Regions from separate parts of the Homo sapiens genome. Here regions 1, 2, 3 and 4 are each linked to region 5. The links are contacts of gene promoters, found by promoter capture Hi-C in human tissues and cell types (Jung and others, 2019). All regions are on one chromosome and are shown on one strand. Each heading gives the region's core, a stretch centred on a gene start or on the middle of the fragment in contact. The rest is flanking DNA. Distances are from core to core; before and after follow the strand shown. Region 1 overlaps MSRB3-AS1 (MSRB3 antisense RNA 1). Region 2 overlaps LEMD3 (LEM domain containing 3). Region 3 overlaps MSRB3 (methionine sulfoxide reductase B3). Region 4 overlaps GRIP1 (glutamate receptor interacting protein 1). Region 5 holds the start of LLPH (LLP homolog, long-term synaptic facilitation factor).

Region 1 (2,700 bases), core at 40-2,539, 570 kb before region 5:
AAGGATAGATCAGTGATGTTGGAAGTAAAGGGGGAAGGATCTTCAGGTTTAAAGACTGTGGACACAGCATCTTTGGCTGTGTCTACACACATATGCAATTGATAGGAAGCAAATAGAACAGAAGCCAACTAAGATTTTTAGGAAACCACATTGTCAAAGACACCTCAAGCCTGCCTGAAAACAGTGTATAATTTTTATTTTTAAAACAAATTCCAGGCCTCTAGACCTGCAGTAGCATGAAGAGGTCTGAGGAAGCTGTGCGTCCCTCAAGAAAGCAATTCTTTATTGCCCATCAAAGATGAATCCATAGGGGATCATTAACAAGGAGATCATCCCAGAGAGCAGCTTCTAGAATCACCAACCAAGTAAGTCTCATTGCTATCCCTATACACCAAGGTTTGCTATTTGCTACTCATTCACAACTGTTGAGTGTTTCCCATTCTTCTATGTTTTAAACTGAAAGTTTAAAAAAAATTCTTGGTTATCCCGTTTCTTCTTTACATTTGCATAATGGGGAGTGGGTGTTGGGAGATAGCTTGTCTTTGAGCTTTGGGCTTTTAGTAGCAATAGTTTTTTTTAACAATTAGCATTACCGTTACTATTTAAGACAGAAGATTTGTCAGAAGAACAAAGACCTCAAAATGAGAAGGAATGTGTTCTGGACTTAAAACATTGCTCAGGTATCTTAGCAAGGACTGAGACCTTGGAGGTCTCCAAATACCAGTAAGAATCATTGTGTTATCCTCTTTCTCACATGTTGGATTTTTTTTTTTTTTTTTACTTGTGATTGATGAACTGGGAGAAAGGAAGTGGTCTAGAAAGGGTGAGAGTGGGTGGGTAGATAGGATACAGGTGGCCTCACCTGGAGAGTGGTCACCTGTGAACAGAAGCCATGTTGAACTCCCTGCACTGCCTCTTCTTCTCTGTTCCTTGCAATGACCTTTAGCTGGACTCAGTCAAAACGGCGCTGTCCTTCCCCTTCCCAACCTAAAGCTTATAGTGCAGTTAATCTAGAGGTCAGCTGAAGTGCAGATTCAAGTGGCTCAAACCCCTTTGCAGTATAGGGAAGGAGTCTGGAATAGGGAAAGGATGGGTTGGGGGTGAAGATGGGAGTTGCTCATGGCTTCCCTAATTAGCTCTGATTCAGAGCTCAGACTTCTGTTATCATTTCCTACCCACAAGTGCTGTCTTATTCCTTTGGTTTCCTTCATTTCTATTCAGCCTCATGAAATAAAGAAATAAAGAAAACAAACAAGTAAATAAAAACAAGATCTTTATGGATGTGGCAGAAAGCTTTGCAAGCCAAGAAAGTCTTCTATCCAGGTGATGCAAATAACTGTAAAACTTCAGACTTCTTGAACTACAAAGATGAACTCTGCCAACCCAAGTTCTAGTACTTCCTCTACTCCCAGCCTGACCCCCACTGTTTCTTGGTTTCCTCACTCCTTCTCTTTCTGTTTGACTCTTGAGAGTAATAAACTCAGCCAAGTCCTACTACTTGAGCCCATATTTAAATGCAGAACAATTTGGCCTTCAGTTTATTCTTCCCCCTTCTTCCAGACTCTGGTCTGATTTATCTTTTTATACTCTATAGCCTATTAGGGTTTTATAATAAAGGCTATCCTTCTCTAAGATTTCCAATGTAGCTATTATCCTTTAACCCTTCTGCACAGTTAACAAAACCAGTTGTTACTTTTTTTGGTGGGGGGTGGGGGTGGTTGTTTAGCATTTAGTGATTATTAAAATGACTACTGTTTCAGCAAAAAGTATTCATAAAAAAACTCAAAAAATTCAGAAAAGTACAAAGGAGAAATTGAATAATCTGTAGCATCTCAAACTCAGTATATGTCTAAGGACAGTCTCTGTTCTCCCCTGGTCTTATTCACGCCCTTCAAGCCCTTCTCTCTAATCAAGGAACAATTGGCTTGACTTTTCTAGCTTACCTCACTTAATTTTAGAGAAATATATATCCTGTTTGAGATCCAAAGAGGCATTTGTCAGCATTAAGGGTCTCCCTTATCTCCATCCATGCTCACAATATTTGGCAGGTATACTTCAGAGTTTGTGGTTTGGGATTATAGCTGTTTCCTCACTTCATTCATGATAGGGAGATGTTTTGTCCTTCTATTTTTGTTCCATTTATTGTTTTCATTGGATTTTTAGAAAGGGGAATGGCATAAGTGTTTTTACTCTGCTGTCTTTAACAAGAAGACTTACTTTTCAAAATAATTATTTGTCTGCTTTTAATTTTCTACTTCAAGAAAACGTTAAGGAAAGAATGTATAGCATTCTAGTTAATTTTCAGTTGCTTAGGTGCCTGATAAAGAGAAGCTTCCCTAAACAGCAGCCAGTTCTGTTCTGAAGATGGCCTTCCCATGGCACCAGTACCCTGGTTAGAATTTTCCCAGGGAGAGATGGCCTAGCTTCATGGGAGCTATCACCATAGATTGCCCATGCTGAGAGAACAGACCACAAACTACACCAGCTGCAGACACTTACACAGCACATGTAGGGAGAACAGAGGCTGATGCCCAAAGAACGAGAGGGATTGTACCTCAGCTGCACAGCAGCAGCAACCTGCAGAGAAAGACAACCTGCAAGTTTATACAGCCCTCCTCCTGCCTCCATGAGAACCTGACAGAGGCATTTGAACCAGAGCGACTCCATCTTGAATAGAGGCTGGGTAAAATAAGGCTGAGA
Region 2 (2,700 bases), core at 20-2,519, 900 kb before region 5:
TTTGAAAATGTTTTCTATCACTGAATAATATTTCATGGTATGATTTTATTTTATTGGTTTGTGGTTTTTCAATATTATGAAATCACTCTAATCTTTGCATATAGTATTTAATTTTCTAATATTTCTTAGGAAATAATCCTAAAAAGGAAATTACTTGTTCAAAGAGCATGAACTTTTAAAAATGCTTTTGATATATGTTGCTATATTAATTCCCAATTTAAAATGACTGCTTTAGCACAATCTAGCCAAAATTCTCTATGTTATTTTATCCATATTCTGGCATAAATATGGAGGAAACTCACTACAAAGTTGATATCAAACAAGGATTATAATATCTATATGGAGGGCCTTCTGCTTATGAGAAAGAGATCTATTACATATTTTCATGTATTTGCACTATAGTTTCACCAGCAACACATTTAAGTTTTTAGATTGAGGAATAAATAAACCAAAGAATGTGTAGAGCCCCTACAAGTGTAAGCTAATTTTTTCACAACTTCTAGTACATTTTAAGCACAGTGAGTATAGTAAATGTTTGATGGAGTAAAATGAGTGAATAAGCCTCAGTAACATATTTTTGTTTTCTTGAATTTAATTATTTATGTTTAATTCTTTATCCAGTTTTCTCCTTCAAAGGAAATTTAAATAAACTTAATAACTAATTTAAATAATTTAAACACTATTTTTCTAACTACTCCAGTGCTCTTCTTGAGCTTTTTAAAAAACTCGTTGTTTTTGATATTGAAAGCTTATTTTAATTTGTGAAAAGTTAAGAGGTCCCTCTGGTGGAACATTGAAGAAATACATAGTTTATATTTCCGTGAAAATACATGATTGGTTTTTAAGTTAGATGGTAGTGACTTTGTATAACTTTTTATGGAATAATGTAATGAATGGGTTTACGTTCCTAGGTTGCTTTCAAAACCTTCTTAACCTTTAACACAATGAATATGTTTAAGATTTGTGAAGAAAATAATAGGAAAGTAGACAGCTGCAAATGTGTCAAATTATGGGGCTGGATAGACTTTTATGGCCTAGAATGCTAATTACTGTTAATAAAAGTCTGTGTGGAAAAATGAGTGTTCTGAGAAGTGGAGTGAGGGGGAAATTTTATGATAATAATTAAGGTTTATAAAGTACAGTGTGGTACTTTCTATATGTTAATTCTAATTTCAGAATGATCCAACAAGATAGGTGGTATTAGACCCATTTCATAAAGAAACTAAACCATAGAGGGGCTAATAACTAGAGTATCCAGCTACTATGTGATGGAACTGGGAATAGAACCAAAGTACTTGCTCTTTTCTATATATTGTTCTGCCTCTTAAGTGGATGGAGTGGATTCATAATCCTTAGCTCCAGCTATTGAGTGGGCAAGGGACTGGTGCTATTAAGGGTTAGGATCTGAAAAAGTGGTCAAAGTAGATACATCTGGATAGGTGGCATATTTTTCACTTGTCCCATTTAAGGTTGTACATATAGCTAATCTGTAATGGAGCCAGCATCTGGTTCTGGGTCTACTTGATTCTAAAGACTATGTTTTTTTCTGTTATTCTAGCAGGTGAAAGATCATACAATTCTTACTGAATCAGGAGTTACATCCTGTTCAGCATTGTGGATTTCTGTGTGTTATATTTTAATTAATTTTAAAAGGTGCCATCTGATGCATAGTGTAGATCATCTCACAGTTCACTAGAATATTCACCAGCTGGAAGGCTGCATGGCTATTACTGTGTAAATTATCAGTTTCATAAACTATCCATATTAGGTTTTTAGTCCTTGCTTGATTTCTCCCTATACCAGTGCCTTTTTCCCTTCTTACTAACTAAAGTTTTGTTGCCTTATTTAATGAAACAGTATTATTTTTGTACTTGGAAACTGTAATCCAAGTTCAGAGCATCTGATGTGGGTTTTAAAGTACACATTTTTGACCCACGATTTTGAAAATAAAGAACATTTGGGAGAGTTCATGGGGGTATGCGTGAGTACACACATAATGTGTTAGATTTAAGATTTGGGAAAATATACTTCAAATTTAGAAAGATTTACATGAAGCAGTCAGTGGTATACTGACTGAGCTCTTGCCTATAAGTAAATAGTAATAAACAATAGTAATAAAAGTTGTGCCTTAAAAATTAAAAACTTAGTTTCTTCCTGATTTTTGTCATCAGTTATTGGAAAATGTTTGTTTTATGATGCTGGAATGCCTTACCTTAGAGGTTAGCAAGCCATGGCTTATGGGCCAGATCCAGCCTGCCTGTTTTTGTATGGCTTGTGAGCTGTGGTTTTACAACAGTTTTAAAGCTTGCTTTTAAAAAAGAAAGAAAGAAATTTATATGGCTGCACAGCTTAAAGTGTTTACTCTCTGGCCCTTTACGGACAAAAGAAAAAGCTGACCAACCCCTGCCGTGCCCACAGCTTTCCAGGTGGCTACAAAAAGTGAATAATAAAACAGTTTAAACTGTTAAAATCAGGTATATGCTATGTATGCTACAGTATTAGCATCAACTATTTGGCACAAGCAAATAATTCAATTTTTGCTTTTATAAAAATTCCATTTTCTAATACTCTAGAATGCCGTATATATATTTGTGGAAATAGTGGCATATTTTAGACCTCAACACCCCATTAAGTCCTTAATGAGGTTTTAAATAATCAATTGTTTATTGAGAATGTGTACCCATAAAATGAACATTCCAT
Region 3 (2,700 bases), core at 49-2,548, 820 kb before region 5:
TGGTTTGCCAAATACAGGGGAGGCTAAATGTTTATAGAAACCACATTAATTAACAGTGTATTCTTCAAGATATGACAGTCATGGATTAAAGGGTTTCATAATGAGATTGTTTAACTGAAATATAAATATCTTTAAATTTTGATAAAATGATTCAAAGATAAATTCAGCAAAGCTGATAGTTTTTAAAAAATTAACCATTATGGTACAGTGCTTAAGCACACAAATTCTGTATGAGGTCAGACTGAGTTTAAAATCTGACTTTGCCACTGACTAGCTGTGTGCCTTAGCTTCCTTGTTTGTAACATGGAGATAATAATAGTACCAACCTGAAAGGGTTGCTGTGAGAATTAAATAGATTGGGATGTGAAAAGTGCTTAAACCTGTGGCTGGCATTTAGTAAACACCATATATGTCTTCACTATGTTCAATATGGAAATTCATGTATCTGTATTAATATAGATTTATGTTTTTCCAATACAACAGACTTTTCAAACTTTTAAACATGTCCTATGTTTCATTTAACTATTTTTTACTTTCATGGGACTCACAAATACACTTTATGTTTGAGGAATAACCATCTTGACCTGTTGTTCTGATCTCTTTATTTTACTTATGCACCCTGCTGAACCAGAATTCAAGTCCTATAAATATACAAGAGATTTCTTTTATTCTTACTACCCAGTACTGGTAAAAGCCCAAAGAAACTCTCATCTTTCTTATCTAGGGCTTGTAAACCCATTTTAATTTGAAAAATGAGTTGACTAGAATAGTATTCCATAATTTCTCGACCATTCAAGCACCACTAGTTTTTAAAGTGTTATGAAAGTCAGTCTTTGGGTGTCTACATATTTTATAACTTGGATTTAGCAAAATCTGTATCATCATCAATTTCTCTAACAGGATTTTGCTCTTAGATATATAGAAATGTTGAAGAAATTAACTTCAACAGTAATGAAACAGACTGCTTAAATTTTGAAAAATAAAGATGAAATTGAAATGGGAATTCTAGTCCCTATTAGTTTGTACAGGTAGGGAAGAGAAGAGGCCAAAATTGGAAATACAGGAAGTGAAGGTGAAAGTTTGAAGTCTTGCTTTAATATAATGTTGCTGGTCAAAACCCATTACAACAGAAATCTCTGTAAATCAAAAAGATGTCTGTTCCCTAACCAGTACCCTACTAATTTTGAGTATTATTCAATATGAAATAATTCCAGAACTAAAATATAATTGGAGCAAGCTCTTAAAGTTGATTATAACTGGATTGACCTGCATGAAGGCTATATCCCAGAAGAGTGATCTATTATTTTTCAGCTTTGACTTTTTTTACGTCTTATTTTTTTAATAAAGTATAATTTTAATTTGGAGCTTTTTAAGTGCATCTGAGTTATGGTTCACTCATGTTTGCAATTAAAGGTAATTTTTCTCTCGCAGAATTTCTTCTTAATTTCTTACAACAGTTTCCTTAATGTATTAAAAGAACACTGGATTAGGAGTTAGAAAACTCTAACCAAAGCTCTGTCCTTAACTTGCGTGACCTTGAACAAATCAATAAACTTCTCCTGATCACAGTCTCTTCATCTTTATGAGGAATTAAAATTAGATAGTATATTTAGTTCTTAAATTCTGTGATTTTATTAACTGTCACTTGTTTTTACTTTTGACTTTAGGTTAATCAGATCTTAAAACTCAGTACTAACTAATGCTGGGAACTTATACAGAGAAGTCTGCTGAGTTGTGGTGGGAGGACACAGTTTCCATGTTTGAACATTAGAATTCCTTGCCTCTTAATCAAGACTGAAGCATTATCTGAGGAGGAATCAGGAAGCCCAATTTTATACATAGTTTTAATGCTAGATAAAAATTAAGTGTAATTGTAGCTTAGACTAGATATCATGATAGCTTTCAGCCAAGTGAGGGTGAAATAAATAAAATTTGTCTAAATAGTACTAATTAGAGTGATAAATTATACTTTTTTTCTACCCTCATACATATAATTTGTGGTTGTGATTCTTATTTGACATTATTGGCATATTTAATAGTTTCCATGAATTGAAGAGTCACATGGCTGTAGCTTATAAATATATCATAGTTTTCTAATGTAGCAATTAGAAGTCTTAGAGATATTTTGCAAATGGTGTTAGAAAGTCATTGATTATCATCTGTATAACTAGAACTCCATGAATCAGCGGCTTATGGCTCCAGAGCTTAACACAGTGCCTGGCACTTAATAAATATATGTTAAATGAATCAGTAAACATTTGGAATGTTTATGTGTAGGTGAAGTCATAGCTGTAAGAGAGTACAAATTTATTTGAAACTCCTTTATATGGGAAGATTAAAAGTGAAGTTCATAGTTTGGTTTACTTTTGAATTTATTGTCTGACAATTTTTTCTCACTTTATTGCATTAATACAATACAGGGGATGTCATAGGTATAAATCACATTGTAGCTAAACAAAAAACAAAAGTGGCAACAGATTCAATGCATGTTATCCAGAATTGCTTTTACCTTTTCTTGCAAACAGTTTTGAGTTTTGGTAGTAAACTGTTTGAGGCGGTGAATAAGTACGTAGTATACTTAGCATAAGACTTAAGAACTCTGGCCCTTTTGATCACTTCTTTGCAGCAAATTATTGTTTGTTGTGCTTTAAAGTCTCCATTTGTAAAGAGGAAATACTACAGATACACATTAAAGCCACA
Region 4 (2,700 bases), core at 173-2,672, 550 kb after region 5:
AAATGATTGAAACAGTGGCTTGAAACATTAATAAGAAAATGACTCAATTCCCAAGTCAGAGAAGTGCTAAGTTTACCTGAAATATATTCTACTATAATACTGTGGATCAGTGTCTATGTGGAGTGATCCAAGGACTTGTCTAGAAATACATGTTTTATACATCTTTTAAAATTACATCTGACCTAAAGAAAAAATATTTATTGTTCAATAATATATTCATTTTAAAAATGCTTTTTACACCTATAAATTGTCCCAGCCCAGAATTCTAAGTGCAAAAATGTCAGTGTCTGGCACATAGTAGGTACTTAATCGATATTTGTTAAGTATGTATTAGATATATGAAGAATGTAAGAATCAAGTAAAAATATCAAGAATGTGGGTGTTTGTAGAAAATTGTTTCCCTTTTATTCCATCATTTTCTCCTTAAGAAAATTAAGAAGAAATTGCAATTGCCATATTGCTTTTTCTTGTGGGTGATATCAACCACAAATAGCAAGGTAGTTTTGGAGTCATGAAGCAAACTTCCCCCTGCTAAGATCTGGGTAAGGTTTTAGCCACAAGAGGCCTAATAAAGCTCTTGAAGCATTTCCTAAGAGCTCACAGAAGATTTAAATGCCCTACTACTTTCAACTAGACAAATCCAATTCATTTTAACAAACAGTTTTGAAGTGCCTACTAAGTGTAATGCCTTGTGCTAAATGTCTGGAAGAGTGAGTGTTAGGTGGAGCCCTCAATGGGTATAAAGAAATATGTATGTTTGGGAGTTGAGGGTGAGGGTGTGGGAGTTGTGTGAGTAGGGAGAATGGGACAAGAAAGAAACTTCAAGTGTATATCCACCCCTGTCCCCAAATACACTCCTGACCCTAAAAGAAAGGTCATTTTAATATTGTAATTACATATGTTTCCTGGTTTTATCATTACAGCTTAAGAAAACAGCACCACAAGTATGGGTGGGGTGCTAGAACTCAATGAATCCACTTTGGAACAAGAAGCATGGGTGGAACTTGAACGTTGTTGGACAAGACTGAAGCAGATGGCAAGGCAAGGTACCGTGTTACTCAGGTGCATTCTTGTAAGTATTTGGACAGCCAGTTAAACACAAAGAAGAACCCAATTATGGCAAATTGATTCTGCAAAGAGATTTTATTTTAATCATCAACTGACAGTCTTAAGTTAAATACCAAATAGAGCAGACATAAAGATTTTGGAAAAAAGTGTGAGGTAGCAACTCCAAAGCAGTTATCAATACTTTCCTCAATTATCTAGATTTTTAGCGACTATCTTAGTAAACACTTAAATCTCCTTTCAATGCAGGAGATCAATGCTTCCATAAAATTCAGAAAACTGAGAAAGTTAAAAATATTTGTAAGAACTATAAATTGCTTGGGTTCACTCTCTTCCTTGTATGTAGTACTTATAAAAGAACTGATACAGATGAATAGAAAATACTGATTGTTTCATGTTTATGATGTAAGAAGACCATCAACTTCTCAACATCAAGATAAGTAAATGCCAAAATCAGGTCAGAAAAGAACTTTTCAGAATAAGGGCCTGCCTTTAAAAGTCTCAGCCAAAACCGTAACAGAAAGGATAGTCTCTTAGTCATGATTTATAAACAGAAATTGTACGTCTGTACCAATTGTAGAGGATAAAGTCAAAACAGAATTTACAGCCTCCTGCTAATAGCCTAATTTAAAATGTATAATCTTCCCTACATTTCCCCCAAAGTACCTTTTAAAGGACTCACTCTGCTATCCAAACAACTTGCAAATGCATTCGGTAAGTTGGTCTACAGTATTTATTCTCTTTCCTGTTATTGACTCAAGATCTATTTCTCATGATTTGCTTTGTGCTCATTCTTCTGCCAGATAAAATATTAATTGCATTTTTAGCTGCACTGCTGGTGATCAAAGAATTCTGATATGTCAAGCTAAACTGACAGAAATAGCATCCATTAACATATTTATAGGTTCAGAGCTTCTAGAACATAATTATATCCATTAATTACTCAACAGTACTCTATATTACAGGCTGAAAAAGAAAGGCATTTGCAACTAAATACTTTTACTCAGAATGAAGTTTTTTTTTAAATAATAAATTTTCTCTAAGGAAGGTTCTATCTAAAGGAAATAAGGCAAGAGAGCTCACATATCTATATGGACACAAGGCAGGATTTTTAAGGCATCCATTTACTAACTTTGCAATAGAATGCTCACAAAGTAAACGAGATGGCACATCCAGAATGGTTTCAAATAAAATAATACCTTAAATATTACAGAGAAATTTAATTACTATTTTAGAGTTCTAAGAGTGACAATCTGAAGCTGGTAATTCTTGATGATAAGATTCCGAGCAATGATTTTTACTTTCAAATAAACTTCTAGTATTACATAGGACCAAAGCATTTGGAATTACATACTTTTCTGAACATGCAATTCTAACACATAAAGAAATTAAAGCTGTCCAGGGAAAAAGCTCTTAAGATGTTGGAAAGTCATAGAACAAACAATTATTCTGTGGATCCACCAGCTGTGCGAGTCCTGAATCTGCCAGCTGCATTTAGTATATGTATCATAGAAAGGACAGTAACACACACTTGACTCCTTTTGGCCAGTTAATCAGCATGCAAAATGACGGTTTCCCACAATAACTTCAGCACCGGACCCAAACACATTCTCTTTTCAGCAAAGAATGAAGTCA
Region 5 (2,700 bases), core at 21-2,520:
GGTTCACGCCATTCTCCTGCCTCAGCCTCCCGAGCAGCTGGGACTACAGGCGCCCGCCACCACGCCTGGCTAATTTTTTGTATTTTTAGTAGAGACGGGTTTTCACCGTGTTAGCCAGGATAGTCTCGATCTCCTGACATTGTGATCCGCCCGCCTCGGCCTCCCAAAGTGCTGGGATTACAGGCTTGAGCCACCGCGCCCGGCTGAATTTCTTTACAAAATACAGAAATTTAATTTCCCCAGAATGCAACAGCGTCATCACCTTACATTTATGCAACAGCTTACAAATTACAAATGATTTTTATAAACACTTCACCTCATCTTCATTATCCATCCTCTCAAGCCAACTTAACGACTGTAAACTTATCTATTCCTACTCTTGTTTTCTTTCCACTCAGTTCCGCCCTAAATCCTCCACAAGGTGCTCAGTGTGATCTTTTAAAAAAGCATTCACTGCCTTTCTTCGAGTTCTTTAAAGACCTCCTCCCTCATATATATTCAAGATCTACAAGGTCATTTGTGATCTGTCCCCTGCCTCCTTCAACTCTATTTCATTTCATTCTCCATCCCCATCCCCGCAGGCACCAACTACGTCTGTAAAGAGTCCAAACTATCTCTACGTCAGTGCCTTCATATTTGCTGTCCCTATGCCTGGCAACTGCTCTTCTCAAGGCTTGCTCCTTCATTCGCTACCTCAGAAAGGACTCCTCTGACCTCCGTAAGCTCCCTTCCCTGCTTATTAAGTGTTACAACCTGAAACCATTGTTTTCTGTCACGCCCCCCGACCCTCTCCCCAGACTGTAGACTCCACGAAGGTAGAGGGAAAGGTCTTGTTCACTGCTGAATCGCACACTTTTTGCATACTTGTTGAACGAACCACTAACATTTTTTGAACGCCGGCAATCACAGTCATTCCGCTCCCTTGTCTACATAACTCAACCCTTGCGAGGGGCTAGGAAAGCGGGCGGCAAACAACCTTGAGGGCCGAAGTTAACTTCAGCGGGAGTGAACGACAGGGGTGGGCTCCACTTTATCCAGTGCACTCGGAAGCCGGAGGGCCCCCACCAAAAAGAGCAAGGGGAACCCTCGCCCTCAACAAGGCCTGCATCTCCGGACTGGAGCTCAAGTATAGCCCAGCGAGTGTCAAGAAACGAAATTCTCCAAGGGTGGCGGAATCAAGCCCCAAGTCCCATGTGTCACTGGACCGGTGAGGAACCGAACTCACCTGAGAAACGAACACCCACACCTCACGCTCACGCCGACCGGAAGTCTTTGCACTTCCGTCTTCCGGGCGGAGGCCACCCGGGGCGGACGCATTGCACGCCGGGAGACAAAATGTCTCAAGAAGCCTTGAGAGGCGGGATTTTGGAACCCGGGCGCTGACGAGCTTCCGCCATTGGTGTGATCGCGGACCTAGAAACTTGGTCCGTCCCATACAGGTGTAGAAGTCGGATTTGGAGAATGCTGACGGGTGTCCGGTCAAGGTTAGGCCCCAGGTAGGTCCGCTTTCCGGACGTGGGCAGGGTAGCCCCGAGACTAACCTATGGAGTGAACCTGGCCAGGGGACCCTACTTGTCAGATAGGGAGCTCCGAGCCGACCTTTAGATCTGACCTCAGCGTTTACATGATACTCATGTATTTCCTTAGATCAAGTCAGCCTAGATCAGGTGTTCTTCCAGAGGCCGTATTGAGATCATTTTTATTTGCAGCCTGTGCATTTTCTCATCTCGGGTGATGGCCTCACAGATGTACACATATGTAAAACCGTATCAAACTGCACACTTTAAATATGTGCAACTTATTGCATGTCAGTTATACTCAAAGCGGTTACCAAAAACAGAAAACAAGCTTTTCCTACCCCAGAGAAGAATTTAAAGGGTAAAATGATCAAAGGATTTCAGTTCTATCAATGTTTACCTGTCTGATCACTTACGTATCAGACACAATGCTAAGCCTAGGACGATTGTCTTAGCTCACGAATAACACTTACTGTACAACTATTTCTACTGGCATAGGCTTTGGAACCATATAGGTCTGTGTTGTACTCTTGCTTCCAACACTTGTGAACGATATGGGTGAGTAATTAATGTCATAAGGGCCTGAATTTCCTTGTCCCTAAAGTGAACATAATACAACCTAATTGATGCTGTAAGAGTTCAACAAATGGTACCCTTTTTACATTATAGTTTCAAAAGTATAGCTACACAGTACTATTTGTAAGCAATGTTTCTAGAGATTTACGACATATACCCAAAAAACATGTCTTTAATGATGGCCTGGTAAACTCCTGCTGGTTGCCAGAAAAAGGGGTTCTGAGGCAATCTATGGGTACCTTTTTTCTTTAAATTTGTGTCCTTTATGAAACCATGCATAGTATGGAAATTACTGAATTCAGAATATAGCAAGGTTAAAGAGGCTGAAAAAAACCTAGAACATTTGATATAAAAAAAGGAAGCATGCCTAAGAAACCTGGTTTATTTAAATGAGATTTCGTTCTTATAAAGCAAGTGAATTTCTGTTTTACAAGTTAACCATATACTGTACCTCATCTTTCAAATGAGAAGTTAGCTACCTCACCCAAAAATATAAGTGCACATTGCATTTTAGAGAAAACTTATATTCTGATAGTCCATATTTACTGTATCTTGTTTAACATACCAGGACAAGACTTTTGAATAGGCACTTGGCACCAGAAAAAAT

The links. The method cuts DNA at HindIII sites, captures the fragments that hold promoters and counts their contacts. A contact is called where the count stands out against the background at its distance.
Region 1: a contact is called between a fragment that was not itself captured here and the fragment with the promoter of LLPH in region 5, in 1 of the 25 tissues and cell types used here (adrenal gland).
Region 2: a fragment that was not itself captured here is called in contact with the fragment with the promoter of LLPH in region 5 in 1 of the 25 tissues and cell types used here (hippocampus).
Region 3: a contact is called between a fragment that was not itself captured here and the fragment with the promoter of LLPH in region 5, in 3 of the 25 tissues and cell types used here (bladder, mesendoderm cells and thymus).
Region 4: a contact is called between a fragment that was not itself captured here and the fragment with the promoter of LLPH in region 5, in 2 of the 25 tissues and cell types used here (adrenal gland and lymphoblastoid cells).

Annotation. Positions count from the first base shown.
Region 1 is chr12:65,559,365-65,562,064 of GRCh38, forward strand. All of the region lies in intron 2 of MSRB3-AS1 (MSRB3 antisense RNA 1), which reads right to left. It overlaps LOC105369808 (a long non-coding RNA gene), which reads left to right. Exons shown (of 4, transcript XR_945035.3): 3 at 217-365; 4 at 608-1,634. Among named protein-coding and RNA genes, the nearest start is that of LINC02454, 42 kb to the right of the region's middle. The HindIII fragment of the contact is 4,890 bases long and covers 1-2,700 here.
Region 2 is chr12:65,231,917-65,234,616 of GRCh38, forward strand. All of the region lies in intron 4 of LEMD3 (LEM domain containing 3), which reads left to right. Among named protein-coding and RNA genes, the nearest start is that of MSRB3, 45 kb to the right of the region's middle. The HindIII fragment of the contact is 3,788 bases long and covers 1-2,700 here.
Region 3 is chr12:65,310,576-65,313,275 of GRCh38, forward strand. All of the region lies in intron 2 of MSRB3 (methionine sulfoxide reductase B3), which reads left to right. Among named protein-coding and RNA genes, the nearest start is that of MSRB3, 33 kb to the left of the region's middle. The HindIII fragment of the contact is 9,744 bases long and covers 1-2,700 here.
Region 4 is chr12:66,675,911-66,678,610 of GRCh38, forward strand. The region is part of intron 1 of GRIP1 (glutamate receptor interacting protein 1); the gene reads right to left. Among named protein-coding and RNA genes, the nearest start is that of GRIP1, 1.8 kb to the right of the region's middle. The HindIII fragment of the contact is 5,728 bases long and covers 1-2,700 here.
Region 5 is chr12:66,129,480-66,132,179 of GRCh38, forward strand. LLPH (LLP homolog, long-term synaptic facilitation factor) reads right to left here and starts at 1,271. Exons shown (of 3, transcript NM_032338.4): 1 at 1,226-1,271. LLPH-DT (LLPH divergent transcript) reads left to right here and starts at 1,272. Exons shown (of 2, transcript NR_125724.1): 1 at 1,272-1,496. RefSeq lists enhancers at 995-1,144, 1,185-1,294. The HindIII fragment of the contact is 6,410 bases long and covers 1-2,700 here.